2 separate regions of the Homo sapiens genome follow, and region 2 is linked to region 1. Evidence: promoter capture Hi-C in 16 types of primary human blood cells and fetal thymus (Javierre and others, 2016). All regions are on one chromosome and are shown on one strand. Each heading gives the region's core, a stretch centred on a gene start or on the middle of the fragment in contact. The rest is flanking DNA. Distances are from core to core; before and after follow the strand shown.

Evidence for each region. The method cuts DNA at HindIII sites, captures the fragments that hold promoters and counts their contacts. A CHiCAGO score of 5 or more calls a contact.
Region 2: a fragment that was not itself captured here is called in contact with the fragment with the promoter of HS1BP3 in region 1 in 2 of 17 cell types (neutrophils and total CD8 T cells); the score reaches 6.1 in neutrophils.

Annotation. Positions count from the first base shown.
Region 1 is chr2:20,647,186-20,653,638 of GRCh38, reverse strand. It overlaps HS1BP3 (HCLS1 binding protein 3), which reads left to right and starts at 2,541. Exons shown (of 7, transcript NM_022460.4): 1 at 2,541-2,607. The coding sequence starts at 2,576. LOC105373466 (a long non-coding RNA gene) reads right to left here and starts at 2,357. Exons shown (of 2, transcript XR_001739320.2): 1 at 2,287-2,357; 2 at 1,439-1,664. RefSeq lists enhancers at 2,123-2,860, 2,945-3,094, 3,115-3,194 and a silencer at 2,275-2,864. The HindIII fragment of the contact is 7,312 bases long and covers 1-4,012 here.
Region 2 is chr2:19,969,571-19,976,023 of GRCh38, reverse strand. WDR35 (WD repeat domain 35) reads left to right here. Exons shown (of 27, transcript NM_020779.4): 6 at 361-494; 7 at 1,391-1,556; 8 at 2,316-2,461; 9 at 6,419-6,453. Among named protein-coding and RNA genes, the nearest start is that of WDR35, 17 kb to the left of the region's middle. The HindIII fragment of the contact is 1,882 bases long and covers 1,266-3,147 here.

The DNA.
Region 1 (6,453 bases), core at 1,292-3,791:
TTTAGATCCCACATTCCATGCATTGTATACAATTACGCGCTGGAGCCATAGAGGGGCACGTGGGACCCACAGAGGCAGAAAATGGGATTGCTGTTGGGAATGGGGTCGTTCTTTCATGGGAAACCAGTTGCATTCTTGACAGGTGGGCCGAGTCTTCCTGAGGTGCACACTTCACAACCCCAGGGGCACAGGTGAGGCCCTCTCATTTGCTTACAAGGCATTGGTGACAGACATGCTACCAGCTCCCACAATGATGGAGAGTCCCCTTCTCTGCAGCCCCCCAACACCGCTGCATATCTCTGGATTGTAGACCATCCTTGGTGGGCTCACCCCAACTCTCAGGCTCAACAGCCTCCTTTTTACCCATGACTCCTATGTCAGTCTCCAGCCCAGGTCGGCTTCCTGAGGCCCAGGGCCATAAACCCAATCGCATCAATAGGTCCAGCCCTTCAAACACTGCCTGTCTGAAACAGAACCCATCATCCTACCAAAAATATGCTCCTTCTCCAGGTGCCCTGCCACAGAGAATGATACCAATGTCCAGCCACTCACAAGAGCCAAACCATAGTGGTATCTTATCTCTTCCCGCCCACACCCATTGGATTCCCAAGTCTTGACCAACTCCTTCTCCTAAGGCCCTCTTACCCGTCCCCTCTTCTCCACCTGGGTGGCCATCACCCTAGTTCATGGGACCATTGTCTCTTGTCTGGATTGTTCTGCAGTCCAGCTCATCTTCATACCTTCAACATGCTCCAAAACCCTGCCCACGCCCTAGCTGGCCCAGCCACTCCTATGTCCCTGACCCTCTGATGGCGCTGTGTTGGCCTCAGGATCAGGCAAAGCCCTGGCCTTGGTGCACTAGGCTGTCCACACCCTGGCTCCTGCTGGCCTCTTCCCCCTGTTCCCTGGTGTTCCTATCCTGTCGCTAGGGCTTTGCACGTGACATTCCTTCTAATCTATTCTATCCATATTTCTTCAGGTTTTCCCTTGGACTTCAGCTCCTTTAGAAAGCCTTTCCAGACCCCCACCCACTCCCCATGTAGGAGGGCAAAGAAGTCCACTGAAGGCATCTAAAGTGTCTTATTCACTGTGTTTCTGTCTGTTGGATAAATGTGAGTGCAATGGTGACTGCTCGACTGCCTGGCACTACACTCAGACTCCTGGAATGCTGAAGCCTATACTGCTTTCTGTCCAGACCCTGAACTCCCTTTCTCTAAAGTAGGGCATGCCAATTTAAACAAAACACGGAGGACCATTTGCAGCCATGAACACGGCCCTGCAGACGGACAGGCCGATGAGCAGCAGAGCAGACAGGGGTTCCCGCCATCATCCCAGCTCTTCACTGCAGCCTTCAAGGGTCTCCCTCAGAACTTTCATTCATTGTCATACTTCATTCATGATTGCTCATCTTGCCTATAAACAAATCTGAGACAAATAATAAGGCATATCAATGTCCGTATTTATTCAAGAGATACATTGGGGAAAGTCATTTTTCAAAATCTTTTACTGTAGGATTTCTTCACTAAAATCTGTAAAAACTGGTAGATATTGTTGGTGATGCTGGTGGCGGTGGTTGATAGGCTCAGGAAACATGGCTGACATCGCCCTGCCGTGAATTCTGGTATAGTTAAGCCCAGCTTCTCTTTCTTTTTGTCACTGGGGCTCTGGGTGGAGGGAGTAACAGAACAGGGGCAGCAGTTTGCACCTTCTGCTGGCCCTGTTTGCAGACTCAGCTTTTCTTTCCCTGGGCTACGTTGGCAGGTGATACGATCTCTCTGTTCCTCACCCCATGGAGAGGTGAATCTAAAATGAGTGGGTCTGTTAGGGTCTGCATGTCTGTACGTTCCCCTTCTGAGGGGAACTGGCTCCTGGACCCCGTTGCCCTGCTCCAGCTGGGGACCCAAGTGCAGCCATCCCAGGCAGGCCCGGCCCCGGGAGGCCTCCACCAGGGCTCTGCCAAGCAGCAGAGGCTGCCTCTCTAAAGATCCCCTGTCGGGAGAGTGCCTGCCATTTATGGAGCGGGCAGGCAGTAGGAACCAGATAGGCGAGCTAGCTGGAGGCAGCAAGCTCAAGGGGACTGGGCTGCTGCGTGGCGTTCACTGTGCAGCTTGAAGAAGACCCCACGAAGCCTGGACAGAGCCCCAGCTTGGTAAATATTTGTTGACCGATCGGTTGAATGAAATGGTCTTGGGGCAGAGGGGGAGTGGTTTTGTAATGGGGACTGGCGGCGGAAACAGCAGAGTCCCGTCTCTCTAACGGCTAAACTTTAGCGCAAAACAGACACACCGATTAAGGTTCACCGTGTGCCAGGGCCAGGCTGGGCTTCTTCTAGGTGGTTGCGGCGGGCGCGGCTCAGCCTGGGTGCTCCGGAAGCTCCGAGCAGCGCAGGCCGACGGCGACCGTGCGGGACCCGCCCAGCCGCGCTTCCGCCCCGCCTCTGGCCACAGGCGCGAACTGCGCGGCCGCTGCCACCAGGGGGCAGGCCAGGGCAGCGGGAGGCAGGGCGGGGACGCGGTGACGCGGGCACTGCCGGGTCCCGTGACTGCGCGCCCCGCCCGGAGTCCCCGCCGCCGTCATGCAGTCCCCGGCGGTGCTCGTCACCTCCAGGTGAGCCAGACCCCCGCGCCCCACACCGCACAGCTCGCAGTCCGGGGCGCCCGGGCGGAGAGGCGGGGGGAGGCCGCCGCCTCCTAGGCCAGGGACCTGGTGCAGGTCTCCCCAGCGCCCTCGGTGGCTTATCCGGGCTGGGCCCCTGCACCGCCCTGCAGGAGAGGTGGCGACCCCGATTTACAGATGAGGAAACCGAGGCCCTCTGGAGGGTAGAGAACTAGCCAAGGACAGCGGGAGCCCTGGGACTGACTGGTTCAGTGCAGGCGGGCGCAGTGGGGACTCTGCTCTCCTTTCCTACCGCCTTGGGTTCTTCTCTTTTGAGCCCGAAAATCTAGTTCCCCATCCTTTCAGAGCTCCCTGAGTCCCAGGCCCGGTGCTGGGCACTGGGGACAGAGGCGAATCAGACAAGCTCGCCCTGCAGGGGGCTGCAGCGGAGAGGGGGTGATGCCAGCAGCGGGTAGTAAGCTCAGGTTGCCATGGGAACACAGTACAGGGCAGGAACCCGGTTTCTGGGAGGATGAGTTTGATGAGAGACCAGGGAGAGGTCGTTGCTGCTTGCGAGGCAGCTCAGGAGAGCGCAAGTTACAGCAAAAGCCTTGGAGGGGTCCAGGCGGAGGATGCAGAATGGGTCGGCCCTGATCGAGACCTGGAGGACCCAGCCCAAGGTGGATCCTGGCAAGGCTGGGAGGCACGTGCTTTTACTTCTTTCCGCCTTTAAAACGCTGTAAAGTGATTTACTTCAAATATTTTCATACACTTCACCCTTGCTCTCCCTACACAAAGTCTTAGGCTAAGATGCCAATTTATGACATAAATGAACGTGTTACCCAGCCAACTGTTGATCTTCCAGTTGTAATCAGGAATTCCCCGTGACTTCAGGTCTAGAAAGGTATGATTCCTTTTGTAAACCCTGATGTCGGAGGCTGCTTGGTCTTTCATGATCAAGTGTGGTTACAGTTGTATCTTCATGGGCAGAAGAGGTTTCCCTACTGCCACTTACGTCACCTCCTCTCACCAAGCCTCAGTTTCCTTTTCTGTGAATTGGAGGTTTCAGATTGGCAGGCATGAGCAACGTCAGTAGTATATGCCCCTCAGCCATGTGCAGATGGATGGGGTGTGACTTTGGTGCTGGGTGCTTGGGATGGGGTGGGTGGCTTCCCTCCCTGCCCCGCTGCACAGCCTGGACGTGGCTTGTTAACAGATGTGGGGGCGCTGGCGGTGGTAAGGCCACATGAGTCAGGCTCATTTCTTGCTGAGGGCACCAGCACACCCAAGGATCTTGCCTGCAGGGTGAGTCCAAACGCCTTAGCCCAGCAGCAAGGCCGGCCCTTCCCAGTCGCACCCCAGCTCCTCTTTCCAGCCCGATCTCCTCCCACATGTCATTGCCACATGCACTCAAGCTTGAATTCAGCCAGAAGGTGTTTATCGAGAGCCTTCTCTGTACCGGGTACTGGCCCTAGTTCTAGGAGACAAACAAGTCCCTCTCGTAGAGCTTTAATGAGGGCACAGGCCCAGTGGGCAAATCTACGACATGTCAGGGATGATACATGCTATGAAGGAAAACAAAACAGTGGGGGCAACAGAGTGGTAGGAGGCATGCATGCTGTTTTCTATGGTGTGGTAAAGAGGCATCTTTCTGATGGAGTGGCGCCTGGACAGATCCCGGACAAGCTCCATGAGGGAGAGAGCCATGAAAAAGAAATCTTGGAAAAGTGTGTACTGGGAGGACAGGACAGCAGGAGCCAGGGTCCCGAGGCTGGTATGCTGGAGTGGAGTGAGCCCAGGGAGAGTGTTAGGTGATGCGGTGAAGAGGCAAGCTTGGGAGTGAAGGATGATCAGGAAAGGCCGAGAAGGCTGTGGAGGGGCCATCAGATTTAATTTCAAGTGCAATAGGGCCCAACTTCTGGTTTATAGAGATCCTTTGGCTGCTATGCTGAGCATGGGCAGTGGCCGAGCTGAGCATTCAGGACAGGCTTGTAGGTTTCCATGTAGAGCCGGTGGTGGCTTGGCCCGGGGTGATGGCGGCCGTGAGGGTGAGAAATGTTTGGGTTCTCGATATATTTTGAAGATTGAGCTTTCAGGTTTGCTGATGCTTGGATATGGGGTGTGAGAACAAGAAGAGAAGTTAAGACTAACGGCAAGTCTCTCAGCCTAAGCTGCTGGAAGAATGAGGCTGCCCTTTAGCAGGCTTGGGGAGAGGTAGAAGCAGCATTTGTGTAGACAGGTGAGTTTTGAGAAGCTCGTTGACAGCCCAGTGGGGATGTCAGGCAGCTGCAGCTGGAAGGAGGCTGGCTGTGAGGGGAGAGTGAGCTAAAGATGGGAGTTGGGGAGCCATTGGCTCGGAAATGGTATTTAAAGCCTGGAGCCTGGATGAGATCACCTGGGGAGGGGTACAGTGAGAGGAAGAAGGAGGGTGCTCTGGATGCTATCAAGGGGAACCATCCAAAGCAGTTCCTCTCCTCCTGTTTGAGCAAGAGTGGCCAGGGTGGGCAGAGAAGAACCAAGAGTGAGGGGGTGCTCCAGCCACCAGTGAAGGCAGAGCTTGAAGGAGGGGAGTGGCTGACTGTGCCCACTGCTGCTGACAAGTCAGACCAGAGGAGAAATGAGGATTCACCTTTGGATTTAACCACATGGAGGTCGCAGATGACCTGGGCGTGGGCAGTTTGTTGCATGATGAGGACCAAAGTCTGGCTGGAAAGGGTTCAAGATCAAACAGGAGGAGAGGAACCCATGAATATGGGGCCCTCTGTTGAGGAGTTCTGCTGGAAAGGGCAGGAGGGAAACGGAGCAAGGGGAATGTCGGGTCAAAGCACAGCTTTTGTTACATGAGTGGTCAGAGCATGGTTGCATGCTAATAAGCGTGGGCCAGTAAGGAAGGAAAATCGATGGTGCGAAAAAGAGGGGTGAGCTGCAGCAGCTATGTCCTTCAGTAGGTGGGAGGGCCTCGGAGCCGCTGCCCTGGTAGAAGGTTGGCCTTAGGAGCAGCCAGCCAGTTTGTCTACAGTCCCAGGAGAGGGCAGCTATCAGGGAGCAGCTGCAGGCTGATGGGCAGATGTGACAGCGAAGCCTAGGATGTTCTCCGATGGTCTCTGGAGCAGTACACAGCAGTGTCCACATCACTTGGGAATTTGCTAGAGATGGTGAGGGCACACCCCGGGGCCTGCAGAACCAGAATCTGCATATTAACAGGATCCCCAGGGGGTTGCACGCACATTACAGTTGGAGAAGCTTGGTCTAGGGCACATCCTGCCCACCACACCCCCATTTGTTTATGTACTCTCCGTAGCAGCTGCAGCAGAGACCAGATACCCTACACAGCCTGAAATATTTGCTATCTGACCCTGTAGAGAAAGTTTTCCTATGGGTTCAGGGAAGTGGGAGGGTGATGGAGTAGGCCCAGGTGCATCAGACTCGTCGGAGGGCTTACTAAGAAAACAAGATGGCTGGCCACCCTAGGCCCGAACATGCCTTTCTTACAAGTTCCCAGGCGATGCTGATCCTGATCCAGGGACCACACTTTGAGAACCCCACATCTAGGGCAAGGTAGGGTTGCCAAGCCTGGTGTGGTGCTGTGCCTTCAAGTCTGCAGCCATGAATTTCAATGGGACCAGGCTGCATGTTTACACCATGTCTGTCCCCAGTCACGTTGAGCCACTTGGGCACAGGGTGAAGGAAGCAGAGAACTGGAGAAGTGGGCTTTGACCAGGCCAGCTCAGCTCTGGGTAAGAAGTCAGGGGAGCTGGGCCTAAGGCAGAGGGATTCCAGCAATGGAATGGGACCCTGGAAAAGGGGTGGGGTTATGGATTGTGGGTTCTGGCGTGGTCAGAGAACCATTGGATGTGG
Region 2 (6,453 bases), core at 957-3,456, 680 kb after region 1:
AACGCAGAAAGTGTAAGCATGGACTCAGTTATGTTCTGAATTGTTGAAGATGGGAATGAGGAATTTGTTTTTTGGGTGCTTTTATTTTCTTTCCAAAATAGAAGATGGGCTCAACTGCTAATTGGGAGTGAGATCCAGCATCAGAGTTTAGAAGAAAGGGGAGAAAGGTTGAAACAGCTGCTATTTCAGATGTCTTTTCAGGCACATATAGGTGCTCAGTAAATATTTATTGGCCAAATAAATTGAATGAATGCATGAATGCTGTGAAGAATTTGTGAGATCTTTAGAAAAACAAAGATTTCGAAAGCCGTTGTTGGAGGATCATGACCTTGAACAACTTTTAATAATGTTTTGTTTTAGGCAATCGTATTTGGGGAAAAGACCTGAAGGGTATACAGCTATCCCATGTAACATGGTCTGCGGACAGTAAAGTCTTACTTTTTGGAATGGCAAATGGGGAAATACACATTTACGATAATCAAGGAAATTTTATGGTAAGTAAGTGTATGCATCAGTCTTGTTTATACAATTTTATATGATTATCGTACATATCATTCATGTTTGTATATACATTTATTTTTTATGGCGGTTTGTGTAATTAAAGTCTTCAATTCAGATTTTTTTTCTTTTTCCCAATCGTCTAAATTTTGTTTTAATTAAATAAAATTTTGGTTTTCTCAAGGCAAATTAGTGCAACAAGTTCGAGTGTAGCTTTTAGTTCCAATTTTTTTTGGTAGGTAGAAAGGACGAGGTGTCAGTGCATTTAAGCAGAGAGATAATGAGTAGGGCGATGTGCAGTTTAAGTTTTATAGGTGTCTTCTGGTGTCTGAAGCCAAAGTTTACATGTAGATACCACAGGGTATTTTTGTAGCAAGCTACCAATGGTTGTTTGTAAAAAGAATGACAGACTTAAATGGTAAGTGAGAAAAATCAATCCCTGGAAAGAAGGTAAAATAGAATAGGATCAGGCAGCATAATCTGGAGAAAAATTCTGGCTTTGCAAGGTTTAGCTATCATAGATGTATGATTACTGGTGGGGCAGTTTTGTTTTTTAGCAAGGGTTAGGACATTAAGTAAATCCACTCACTGGTGGAAGTAAAATAATGAACTTTTATGTCATTTTGCTGTTTTCAAAGTACTTTTATATACTTGTTGTTTGAGTCTCATAAAAACTCAGTGTTTTTTAATCCTCATTTTTTACATGTGGGGAAAATGGACATTTAGGTGATTTGTCCATGGCCTGTATACCAGTAAGTGATTAAGCTTTAATTTGCCACCTGATTTTTAGACTGTATTTTTCAGTGTTCTTTCTACAATACTCTATTGAGTATTGTCTCTATACTGCTGTGTTTTAAAATGTAAAATATTAAACCTAACCAATTTTATTTAGATAAAAATGAAACTGAGTTGTTTGGTGAATGTCACTGGAGCTATCAGCATTGCTGGAATTCATTGGTACCATGGCACAGAAGGCTACGTGGAGCCTGATTGCCCTTGCCTTGCTGTTTGCTTTGATAATGGAAGATGCCAAATAATGAGACATGAGAATGACCAAAGTAAGGAATTTTTCTGTTTAAAAAATTTTTTTAATTTCTATTTTTTTTTTTTTCTTTTTGAGATGGAGTCTCACTCTGTCGCCCAGGCTGGAGTGCAGTGGCACGATCTTGGCTCACGGCAACTTCTGCCTCCCGGGTTCAAGCGAATTTCCTGCCTCAGCCTCCCGAGTAGCTGGGACTACAGGGCGTGCCACTATGCCTGGCTAATTTTTTATATTTTTCGTAGAGACGGGGTTTCACCCTGTTAGCCAGGATAGTCTCTATCTCCTGACCTCGTGATCCACCTGCCTCAGCCTCCCAAAGTGCTGGGATTACAGGCGTGAGCCACTGTGCCCGGCCTCAATTTCTAATTTTTAACTTTTTTTTTTTTGCGACAGGGTCTTGCTCTGTTGCCGAGGCTGGAGTGCAGTGGTGCGTTCTTGGCTCACTGCAGCCTTGGCCTCCCAGGCTCAAGGTCTCAGCCTCCTGAGGAGCTGGGACCACAGGTGTGCACCAACTCCTCCAGCTAATTTTTGTATTTTTCGTAGAGACAGGGTTTCACCATGTTGCCCAGGCCGATCTTGAACTCCTGGACTCAAGTGATCCGCCCGCCTCAGCCTCCTAAAGTGTTGGGATTATAGGCGTGAGCCGTTGTACCCAGCCCTGTTTTTTTAAAAATGTGGAAAGTTTTAAAAATGTTTAAAAGTTGTTCTTAAGATTATAAAGTTCTCTAGGCTACGTATTTTCCCACAGTGACCTCATTTTTCTCTTTCTGACTAGATCCCGTTTTGATTGACACTGGCATGTACGTAGTAGGCATCCAGTGGAACCACATGGGCAGCGTGTTAGCTGTGGCAGGCTTCCAGAAGGCAGCCATGCAGGACAAAGATGTGAACATTGTGCAGTTTTACACTCCGTTTGGTGAGGTAAATGCATTCAAATTGATCTTCTTTCTTTCTATTTAAATGTGCAGTGAGTAAGGTAGAGGAAAAAATAACAAAGGAAACGGTGTAAACTTATCACATTTTCTTTTAGGGACATTTCATCTTCATAGTATAAATCTTTGTTGTATTTTATCATGGAATTTTATAATCTTATAGTTTTATAATTATAAAATAAAAATTACAATTTTATACATTCAGAAAACCAGAAGTTTAACATAAGAAATCACCATGGAGTAGTTATTTTGAATATTTTCTCTGTGATCTGAATATGTGTCTCTTTTCATAGCCAGCTTTTGAGTAGTATTTAGTATAATATAGTTGTTTCAGATTAATTTTTCTGATTTTTAATGTGATATTTTAAATGTGTTTAGATGTTAAACATACATATCTGTCTGTCCTTCCTTCAAACTTCTAATACTTTTAATTTGTTGCAAAGTAATCAGTTATTTGAAGAAAATTTAATAATTAATCTTAGGTGATGCTACATTAAAATAAAAGCATTGTTTTCATAAATGTACATATGAGTATTATCCTTCTCAATAGTATTTTTAATAAATTTAATTTTAAAAGAATTTTCAGAAGTAGCATTGGAAAATGTCAAGTAGGAGAATTAATATATTGTGAATTTTAAAGAATTTAGAAAGTGAGAGCTTATTAATAACTAAGCTTAATACGTTTTTTGAATGTCTTATTTTCTAACCCAGTACTATATTTTGTCCCTTTTGAATACCCTGTTGGCTTTTATAAATTCGCCATAGACTACAGTGATATATATTTTTGGCTGCATAAAAGCCTATACCAGTTGTTTTAATGTTATTTTTATATATTTTAATAATTTCTTTTAGGGCAAGAAATGATGTCTTCTGATGCTTTTGAATCAGTATCTCAAAGTTACCCAGTAGAATATACTGTAGAACGTAGATGCTCTCTATACATTGTCAAACGACAATATTTCTCGTAGATGTAAAAGTGAAGGAAAAAAAAAAGCATAGTTTTCAAGGTTCCTAAATAATTAAAAATCTGCATTCTAATTATTTCTATATTTATAGCCTCCTTCTTAATTCTTGTTCTTTATTGGTTATTTTTGTTGGTTGCCATTTACTTATTTATCATAATGTTTTATCTGCTTATTTTTGTTAGTTCAGCCTTCCCCAGGTAGAAAAACATGGGTTCTAAAGTCTGTTTGTTTGTCTTGCAAAACAATGTGTTAAGTGTTAAACGGAAAACTGTAAGTGGGGTTTGGTTTAGCTGTAACTAAAAGTATCTAGCATAGTTCCTCAGGTCATAGTAGTCAGTATTTTCTGAGTGAGTGAATATATGGGGAATTATTTGGATCTGTGTTATTGTTAAGGTAGGAAAGATAACCTGGATGGAAGTTATCTAACAATTTAAACTTAATGATTTAAACTTAAGAAAACCTCAGAGAAGAATTTGCTTTTAAATTCTGAGGGCCAGGGGCTCCTGGGTTTTGCACTGTGGTCTTAGCCATGGTAGGAGATAACAGAGCATAGGGTTTGTAGTCAAGTTGATCTGGTATTGAATTCATTTTCCACAGTGTAGTTTGACGTAGAGAAGTTATTTAGCCTCTGAGACACAGTTTAGTTATTTTCAGAAATAAAGGAAATACGTCATGGTGCTGTTGTAAAGATTAAAGGAGATTACAATGAGGAAATGCCTACACAGTGCCTGGCATGTAATGAGGGCTTACTAAAAGGTGGTTTTCTTTCCTTGCTGCTGCCACATCCTGGCTGGTTTGCAGTTAGAAGATGGTCGTATTCTCCTCCTCTTATGGATGGGTCAATACCAAGAGTACTGTAGAGGGCTTGCTGGTTCACCTTTAATTTCATACAGGTAGCAAGACAGATAGATCAGACCCTCCTAGGTTAAAACTTTGAGTTTTTTTCTTCCATTGGTTTCCTTGGGAAAATGGAGCTCAATACATTTGTCTTACTCTATTATGTGCTGCTATGACAGAATACCACAGACTGCATAGTATATATTAACAGAAACTTATTGGCTCACAGTTCTGGAGAATGAGAAGTCCAGTATTGAGCTACTGACATCTGGTGAGGGCTTTTCTGCTGCATAATTTCATGGTGGAAGGAAGAAGGGCAAAGAGAGTGCAACAGAGAGACAAGAGGGGACCTAATTCCCCTTTGTATAATGGCAGTAGTCCCAGCCATGAGGGCCCTCATGCCCTGATCACTGCTTAAAGGTCTCATCTCTTAATACTGTCAAAATGGCAATTACATTTCAATGTGAGTTTTGGAGGGGACAGACATTCAAACTATAGTAACATTAAATTTGACCCTAGAGGGTATCTGCTTAGAACAAGGGATACCAGTAAAGTTCATTGAAATTTTGGGGATTCTATCATTCTGTCAAATAAAAGATATAGATTAAAAATGTTCGATTGCCTTATAGCCACATTAAAAAAGTGTTTGTATTCATTTATTCACTCGTTAATTTGGTCATAAAAAGTACTGTTTATTTATTTTAAATTTTAAATTAAAAAAATTTGAATGTATATTTATTGAAGATATATATTGACTATCAGTTTATCAAATAATCTATTAATGGAAAGGGAAAGAAATGTGAATATGATACAGTTAGTACTCTTAAGGAGCTCATTCTGTAATTCTCTGGAACCATAGAATGGGGGAAGAAGGCAGGACTCGTTGAGGAAGCAGTATTTGAGCTGTATCTTGATGGATGAATAGGCGTGCTCCAGGAGGACAAGGACCAGTAAGGATAGGGGAGCTGTGAGGAAAGAAGAGGGGGATTTCAGGCAGAAGGGATATTGTATAGGCCAAAGCTGTGGAGGCAGAGTAGTTCCTTCACGAGCAGGCACACAGCAGTTATGGCTAAATAGTGGGATATTAAGCCACATAATATGATTTTGGACAAGATGGGAAAAAGGCATTGTATGCCATGCTAAAGAATGTGATGGTGGGGATTTACTGATTTTTAAAAGTTATTAAACCTTTTAAAAAGCAGGGTAGGTTATGATTAGATCTGTGTTCCAGAAAGATAATTGTGACAGCAGAGTATAGATTGAATTGGGAGGGCAGAGGGGGAGAATAAGGAAACAGATGAAAAGTAAGATATAAAGTTAGGAAGCTATTACCACAATGCAGTCCATTAAAAAGGTAATTGTAGAGAGTGGAAAGGAGTAAAAGCAGTAGGACTTGGTGACTCGTTGGTTGTGAGGGGATGAAAGAGAAAGACAAGACTTTATGATTGAATTTGCTAATAAAATATTTCATTGATTCTAAGAAATATAATTTTTTACAACTTTAAAATGAGGAGGCATCTTATAATCAAAGTTGCCATATTTTAATTAGCAATGTGTTTTTTCCTTTCCTTAGTTGTACATAAAAATTCATGTTTCAGTCTATGGCATTTTAGATTTGATGAAATTTGCTATTGAATTCTTTGGATATAGTTTGTAAATTTTTCTTATATGCATGTTTTTCATTATAAAAATTCAAGAAACGTGGCTGGGTGCGGTGGCTCACGCCTGTAATCCCAGCAGTTTGGGAGGCCGAGGCAGGCAGATCATGAAGTCAGGAGATCGAGACCATCCTGGCTAACACAGTGAAACCCTGTCTCTACTAAAAATACAAAAAATTAGCTTGGCGTGGTGGCGGGCGCCTGTAGTCCCAGCTACTCAGGAGGCTGAGGCAGGAGAATGGCGTGAACCTGGGAGGCGGAGCTTGCAGTGAGCCGAGATCACGCCACTGCACTCCAGCCTGGGTGAGAGTGAGAAATTCCGTCTCAAAAAAAAAAAAAAAAATTCAAGAAACATGATTTTAAAGTGACTAGTAACTTTTCACAAAATAATGTTCATACCACTTTTGATCTCTGTGAAGTGATTGGTGGTAATTTGTATTTCAGTTAATTGTTATACTTTAGGTTAAAGATAACTTTCTTTTTCAGCATCTGGGTACTTTGAAAGTTCCTGGAAAGGAAAT